2 separate regions of the Homo sapiens genome follow, and region 2 is linked to region 1. The links are contacts of gene promoters, found by promoter capture Hi-C in blood cells and fetal thymus (Javierre and others, 2016). All regions are on one chromosome and are shown on one strand. The core of a region is centred on a gene start or on the middle of the fragment in contact, and the rest is flanking DNA. Distances in the headings are between cores, read along the strand shown. Region 1 holds the start of NPL (N-acetylneuraminate pyruvate lyase). Region 2 has its middle 120 kb from the start of LINC01344.

Region 1 (4,028 bases), core at 866-3,365:
AAGGAATAGGACATGATGCCTGCCTTGAACACCTTGCAGTGGAGTTGGGGGCAAGAAACAAAAGCAAGAAAATTAATGATTAAATAATACTACATAATAATAGAAGAAATCTCACAGAGACTGCCGCTTATCAGAAGGGGGTTAGAGGCCTGCAGTTCAGCACTGAGCCTTTTGTTGCCTCTCTTCTTCTAAGCCCTACTCATTGTCTGATATTTAGCTTGGCTGTGACCTTCCCCAGTAAGACGTTTCTGGAACACCCTCCTGCCTCTTCACACACACACACACACACACACACACACACACCACCCCCTTCAGCCCAGATTAGAGCTCAGTGTTCCTGTAATATCTCTGTACAGTCTATCACTGCATTTACCATATTTTAAAACAACGTCTCCCCAACACTTCACAGTATAGGCTCTGAGTTTCATAACGGCACAGAGTGGATACTGTAAGAATGCAGTGAGACTCTCCCTACTCCATGCTCCTTTCTTCCATCTTTTGTTCCACAGATGTCAGCCCTACATCAGTCTGCAGGCTGCTCCTGTCTGCTCCAAATCCCTCCCCCAGTAAGTTTCTTGCACATCTAATCCCATCTTAGCATCTGCTTCTTGGTAGACACTAACAAATTATTATAAGGAATTACTTTGCACTACCATATTTATACAAAAAGTAGTTAGTTCATGCATTTAGAATATTGGTTTGTTGGTTGACAATGTTAAGCCTAATGACCTATACCTTTTGGGTACTGACATACTTAATTTTGCACTTATTAAACTGTGACTTTCCAAAAAAAAAAAAAACTTTCATTGTACCATTAGGATATAATATTCTTGTTAATATTACAAAAACCAAACCAAAACAAAAACCATGCTGCAGCCTTAGGAGAACTTGCTTCATGTAACTAAGGGTTTTTCTTTTTCTTTTCTTTTTGTATTTTTTTTTCCTGTAGGATAACATAGTGTTAAAAGCACAAGCTTCTGGACTACTTGAAATCAAACCACAGCTTAACCAGCTCTATGGCTTTTGGCAAATTACTTCAACTCTTTAAACCTGTTTCTGATCTGTAAAATGGAATGATCCTTGCTCATCTGTAATATATACATTTATAAAACAGGACCCACCAATGGGATTATTTTATGAATTAAATGTTAAAACAGCTAGAACGGTGCAGGCTGAGTAAGCACTGAACACAGTACTTATTAGCTATTATCTCTGGTGCTCTGTGCAACGAAAGAACTATTAGAATACATTTAAAAGCACTTTGCAAACTAGAAAGCCCTTTGAACAATTTAGTTTCTCTAAATGTAATAATAAGCATCAGCCATCGCCTTTTATGGAAAATTGAGGTGGAATCACATCAGCAAGAGAAAACTGAGGACTTGTCTCTGGCTCTGTTCCTGATTTATTCACACAGTACATGATCCTAGAATAAGACTCCTGATACTCCTGAAAGTAGAGGCGGTTGGGTTAAAAATAATTTTCCCTTTCAAAACTCTTTCAAATGTTCTCCAAAAGAAGCCAGGAAAGCTCCCGTATGAGTAGATAATTCACTTTAAAATTCGCTCATCTCTCTTTAACACGAGAGTCTGCAGGGCTGGTGCAGCGGCGTCAACCCGAAGAGACCTGAACGCCGATGGGCAGTTGGGATTCTCCGTACGCCTCGGAAACAGCAGCCCAAACCTCACAACGCAGAACCACGAGATAGTGGGGATTGCAGAGCCCTGCGCAAGAGAAGGAAAATTAAGACGCAGCGGAGCCCAGGAGGTGCCCGCACGCGGGAAGGACTGGCGTGCAGACGAGGCAGGGGGAGGTTTGCACTCGGCGTGGCGCGGGTGAGCCGCGTGCTCTCGGGCACCCGGCCGCCAGTTCGGATGCTTCCGATCCTCGGGGAGCCGGGGCGCTGCGCCGGAGTCACTTCAGCCCATGTTGTTCAGGTGACACCCGGGGAAGAGCAGACTCCAGTGTGCAAAACGTTTCGGGGTTTCCGGGCCAGCGGTTCCGGGCGCGCCTCGCGGGCGGCGGCGCAGAACTACAACCCCCAGGCTCCCTGGCGTGGCGGCACGTGGGCCCGAGCCGGGCGGCCGCGGATATAAAGCGCGGCGGCGGCTGCCGGGCGGAGCGGCTGCACGGACAAGAGCGGAGGCCTGGGTGAGCGCGGCCCGCGACGGCACGGGCTAGGACAGACGGACGCAGACGGCCCGACGACCTGGGCGTTCGGGCGGAGGGGCGCTGGGGCCTGACTCGCGGGTGGGTGAGACGTTGACGGACCCGGAGGAAAGAGGGAAGGCAGATACGCTGGGAAACGGATCTGGGGAAGGTGTGAATGCGAAAAGTGTAGGGACAGACGGGGGCAGAAGAACTTACTCCCCCGGATTGTTTGCAGACAGCATATCTGCCGGGTCTCCAAAGGTCCTTTCCTCAAAATAGAGTTAGCAATTGAGCAGAAGAGAGCTTAAAGTTAAACCTGATACATCCCCCCTTCACTTGAGGAGAAATTGGTGGTTTTCTGCTTTTTTAAAAATCCCTATTTGTATCTCCTCTTCTCCGAGTACCTGTCCCTCAAGATATTCTCTGCCCAGAGGTACATTCTGCCCTCACTTTCTGTCTCTTAAAAAAACAACTTTGCCATTTAAAAAAGAATTTGACTTAGGCAGCTTTAATTCTTTGCACTGAGTGTTCTTATCTGTGGATGGAGGTATAAGATTTCAAGAGTAATACCCCCTCCCAATGTTTCAGTAATAATCTAAATTCACATTAAGCCTTAGGCTGGAGAACATTTGAGCTATTCGCTTTAGCTACGAGCTCTGAAAACTTCAAAGCATAACATTCCCAAGTTTATCTAAAACTTGAATCTTAAAAATAATGATAATTATCTGTTATGCTTCAAAGCATAACATTCCCAAGTTTATTAAAAACTTGAATCTTAAAAATACTGATCATTCTCTGTTAAAGTCTTTTGTTGTTGTTGTTGTTGTTGTTGTTGTTGTTGTTGTTGTTGTTTTTGAGACGGAGTCTCGCTCTTGTCGCCCAGGCCGGACTGCAGTGGCGCTATCTCGGCTCACTGCAAGCTCCACCTCCCAGGTTCACGCCATTCTCCTGCCTCAGCCTCCCGAGTAGCTGGGACTACAGGCTCCCGCCACCACGCCCGGCTAATTTTGTATTTTTAGTAGAGACGGGGTTTGGCCATGTTGGCCAGGCTGGTCTCGAACTCCTGACCTCAGGTGATCCGCCCACCTCGGCCTCCCAAAGTGCTGGGATTACAGGCTTGAGCCACCGCGCCCGGCCAAAGTCGTTTTTATCCCATTTCTTCCTGTAGGCGTTTCAAAGTTTGCAAAGGCAGCAAACTTTTACGTAGTGTAGTTATCTGTGCAAAGAAATTTTCCAAGCTGCCATTGCCCCCAGATGGCAGACAGTCTAGGAGAGGAGCCAAAACCACCCTGCTTAATAACTCTGATGTAAGGTTTTTAATGAAAAGCCACTGTTTGGGGGAATTCTGAGGTTTAAGAAATTATTTTCGGCTGGGGTATCAGGAAATCCCCTGGTTTTTAAAATGAGAGGTTTTTTGGTTTTTGTTTGTTTTTGTTTTTAAGCTATACCTGCTGGAATGGATAAAGTGAGCTTTAAAAGTTGATCAGACCGAAGAGATTGAAGTGAGAGAACCACAGGAACAAAGGCAAGCAGACAGACAGTGAAAGGTAGATAGGAGGAACAGCAAACAGTTTGTTCAGCTGGGCAAGTATAGTGCAGGCACGAAGATTTCAATAGAGACCCAGACCCCAGGGAGCTGGTTCTTTAGCCTACTGGCATTTTCTAAACAGGACAAAGACAAGACCAGAAATGCTGGTGTTACTGGAAGATTAATCTGACAGCTGGTGTGGATTGAAGAAGAGAAGAGGGATTAGGACAGTGATTCCTAACCCCTATCCTACACTCCCAACGGCCCCTTGTTTTGAATTTTTGAACTAATCAAACTACATTTGTGGTAATTAGTTTTATTTCTTTCCATTAAAGACATATAAAACTGCCAA
Region 2 (4,028 bases), core at 926-3,425, 600 kb before region 1:
GAAGCCAAGCAAAGTCCCAAGACAGCAGCTGCAGCCTGATTCCCCAGGGGGAACTCTGGGGTGGAAGTTGCATCTCAGAGTCTGTCCTGATTTGGGGCAAGGAACTGGACTTTCATACTTCTGCACTAGTCCTGGGCCAAGGATGCCCGGGGACATTATATTTTCAGCTCTCTGCTCTGGGCAGCCCTAGAGCAGTCTTTTGAAGAGAATAGCAAGGGCAGGCAGTTGGAAGCAGAAGCCCACATTTATATGAGGAAAGGTGCACAGAAATCTACAAAGAATCCAAGAGGATCTGGGCAGAACACCAACAATGTTTGCTACAGAAGATAGGATGTGAACAAATGTGCATCTTAAAAACAATGGAATAGCAATGGAGGAAATGGGCATCAGTGTAGGCTTCACGGAGGAAGTCAGGTGGCCTTGAAAGGATCGGCAGAAGAAATGCTTCAGTCAGGGGGAATATGGTGAGCAAAGTGAGAGGATCAATGTGAAACCAATGAGAAGACAGAAGGGACAGCCCCATGAGTAGATTGCTATCATTGGCTGTGGCCAACTTCTGAGGCAGAGAAGCTGAAGCCACCTTAGAGGGACTTTCTGTTGGAAACGCTGATTGGTTGATTCTTACTCTGACCCAGGGTCATTTCTTGAGTCCTTTGTGGCCAGCTTCTACTCCAAGGTGACATGCCACAACCAGGGCAGGATGATGGTGGCTGAAGCAGAGCCCCCAATTGTAGGCTCTGGTAGAGCTGGGAGGGCTAAGTTAGCCATGCAAAAAGTTTCAACTTTGTCCTATAAGGTCCAGGGAATCTTGGAAGGCTTCTAAACTAAGGAGTGATATAATCTGACCTGTGCTTAAAAAGGGTGACCCTGGCTAAGATGCCTGCACATTTTCTTTACTAGAATGGGTACTTTTCTTTTTAACCTTTACTGTGGGACTTCACTCCCAAAAGACATCTTTCTGTCCCTATCTGTCTTAATGTCCTTGGACTGCCATAACAGAATATATCACATACTGGGTGGCTTAAAAAACAAATTTATTTTTATACAGTTCTAGAGGCTATAAGTCTGAGATCAGGGTGCCAGGTCAGGTTCTGGTGAGGGTCCTCTTCCTGGTCTGTGGATGACCACCTTCTCCATGTGTGTTCATGTGGCTTTTCCTCGGTGTGGGTGAGCAGAGAGAGAAAGAGACAGACAGACAGACAGAGACATACAGAGAGAAAGTGAGAGCACCTTCCTGTCTCTCTTCCTCTTCTTCTAAGGACACTAACTGTGTCAGATCAGGGCCCTACCCTTATGGATGTATTAGTTCATTCTCACGCTGCTATGAATAAATACCCAAGACTGGGTAATGTATAAAGGAAAGAGGTTTAATTGACTCACAGTTCCATATGGCTAGAAAGGCCTCAGGAAACTTACAATCATGGCAGAAGCTGAGGGGGAGGCAGGCACCTTCTTCACATGGTGGCACGCGAGAGAATGAGAGCTGAGTGAAGCTAACAAAACCATCAGATCCTGTGAGAACTCACTCACTATCATGAGAACAGCATGGGGGAAACTGCCCCTATGATTCAGTTATCTCCACCTTGTCCCACTCTTGACACGTGGGGATTACACGATTCAAGGTGAGATTTGAGGTGGGGACACAGAGTCAAACCGTATCACTTCCTTTAGCCATAATTGCTTTTGTAAAGGCTCTATCTCCAAATACAGTCACATTGGGGGTTAGAGCTTCAACATATGAATTTTTAGAGGACACAAATGTTCAGCCTATAGCATCATCCCATAGATTTCTTAAATAGTTGGAAATATCCCAGAGACTTACATGCATCAGGACTCATAACAGCAGTCAAGGCTTAGCAACAGCAGGTAAATTCAAGAGTTACTTCAGCCCAGCTATTGACCTCATGTGATTATCTTCTTTAACCTATCCAGACCATCAGTTTATCTCAGTTAAATTTGTACTGCCATGGCACATATATTGGGAAAAAAAATGTGCTACTTAGATTTCCCAAGGAATTTGTATTTCATCTCCTAAAGCTGACACTGGGAGTTTATCAGGTCCAGAGTTCAAATTCTGGCTTTCCAACTGATCATTATAGAGCTGGCTTCCTTGCTGGCTTTAGCATCTGGAGTTGCAACAGATACCTCGGTGCCTGAAACATGTTTATGAAATCTATGAAACCACAAGCCAGCTGTCCAGTTCCAATGTGAAGCAATAGATACTCTTGGGCTACAGTGCCTTGGTTGTAGCACGTCACCTTGGAGGAGGAGCTGGCCTCATCAGACACAAGAAATGAGTCTCAGGTCCCATGAAATGGCTCATGCTTGTATACCAACACTTTGGGAAGCCCAGATGGGAGAATCGCTTGAGGCTAGGAGTTCAAGACAAACCTGGGCAACAAAGCAAGAGCCTATCTCTACAAAATTGAAAAAATTAGCTGGGCATGGTAATGCGCTCCTGTAGTCCCACCTACTAGAGAGGCTGAGGTGGAAGGATTGCTTGAGCCCAGGACATTGATGATGCAATGAGCTATGATGGCACCACTACACTCCAGCCTGGGGGACAGAGAATGACCCTGTCTCTAAAATTAAGAAAAAAAGAGAAAGAAATGAGTCTAAGGCAAAGTAAAGAGCAACCAGTTTCCAACAGAAGGTCCTTCTAAGGTGGAAATTAAGGCAAAAAATGTAAAAAAAAAAAAATAGATTTTATAAACATTTTTACTTCAGCTTTGTTGGTTTAGCCTAATAACTTTCCTATCTTTTTTAACAGATTTCTTTAAATTAAGCATATTTGCAATTCAAATAGCAAAAACACTACGTAGCTATTAATTAGTACATACACTTGATCTATAATAAATTCTTAAACACTAAATAACCAAACACTAAATATAGAAAACACTAAATAGCCAAAATGAGACCATCTCCATCCAAAAACATAAATAAAAACCAGACATACCCTGTAAACAATATTCTGCATTATTCCTTTTCTCCAAAACTATATTTAAGTTTGGTTCTTGATATTTTTCACTATGTTCTCCCAACTGTTGTGTGGGTTCAGCCATGCTTTAAAAATATAGGTTTTTTCAGATCTTTTTCTGATTACAAAAGCATATATTTTTATGTCAAGAAATTTAAAAAATTTAGATAAGCATAAAGAATAAAACATCTATAACCACGGTTAACATTTTGCTGCCTTGTTTTTAATTTCTACATGTAACACTCACTCATTTATTCATTCATTCATTCATTCATTCATTCATCATTTACTCATGTTTCCAACAATTACATTTATTGAGCTCTCAAGAGGAGCTTACATTCTAGTGGAGAGAGGGAAAAATGAACTGGTAAATCAAAAGATAAAAGACAGGGTAGTGATGAGTTCTATGGTAAAAACAAAGCAGGTGATATGGTATCAAGTACTACTTAAGTTGAAACCTGAATGATAAGAAGAATCTAGCTTTGTGAAGATCTTAAAAAAGAACAGTCCAGGCTGGAGGGACAGCTGGTACAAAGCCTTAGAAATACAAGTACCCTTTAGCCAGAAATCCCGCTTGTAAGAATGTGCTTGTAAGTATGCAAAGAAATCATTATATGGATAACAGATATATATATAGATGATAGCTAGCTAGATAGATAGATATAACCACACTCTTGTTTATAGTAACAAATGGATACAAATAATCTATCACTGGGAATTTGTTGAATACTTCATGGTGCTTCCATAAAATGGATCATCTTCCAGTTGCTAAAAAATGAACTGGGTCTTTCTCTACATGCTGACATGGAAAGATCTCCAAATGCCAACTCAGGATCCCAAGCTGCTTGTGTCCAGTGGTTCTGCCATTCACTAAAGCCTCCTTGAAATCCTCCACTGAGTTCCTGCATTTGGTTCTCCAACCAGCAGAGAGAGAGATTATGAGGAGGTTGCAAAAGAAGGTTCAGAAGCCAGGCCTGGATGGGGTACACATCATGTCTACCCACATTCTATGAAGTCTCATGGCCCCACCTACATGATTGGGAGGCTAGGA

The links. Contacts are between HindIII fragments. The CHiCAGO score rates a contact against its expected background, and 5 or more counts as called.
Region 2: a contact is called between a fragment that was not itself captured here and the fragment with the promoter of NPL in region 1, in 4 of 17 cell types (M0 macrophages, M1 macrophages, neutrophils and 1 more). The highest score is 9.4, in M0 macrophages.

The regions. Positions count from the first base shown.
Region 1 is chr1:182,787,658-182,791,685 of GRCh38, forward strand. NPL (N-acetylneuraminate pyruvate lyase) reads left to right here and starts at 2,116. Exons shown (of 13, transcript NM_030769.3): 1 at 2,116-2,148. RefSeq lists an enhancer at 1,769-2,269. The HindIII fragment of the contact is 6,627 bases long and covers 973-4,028 here.
Region 2 is chr1:182,191,878-182,195,905 of GRCh38, forward strand. No RefSeq gene overlaps it. Among named protein-coding and RNA genes, the nearest start is that of LINC01344, 120 kb to the right of the region's middle. The HindIII fragment of the contact is 7,202 bases long and covers 1-4,028 here.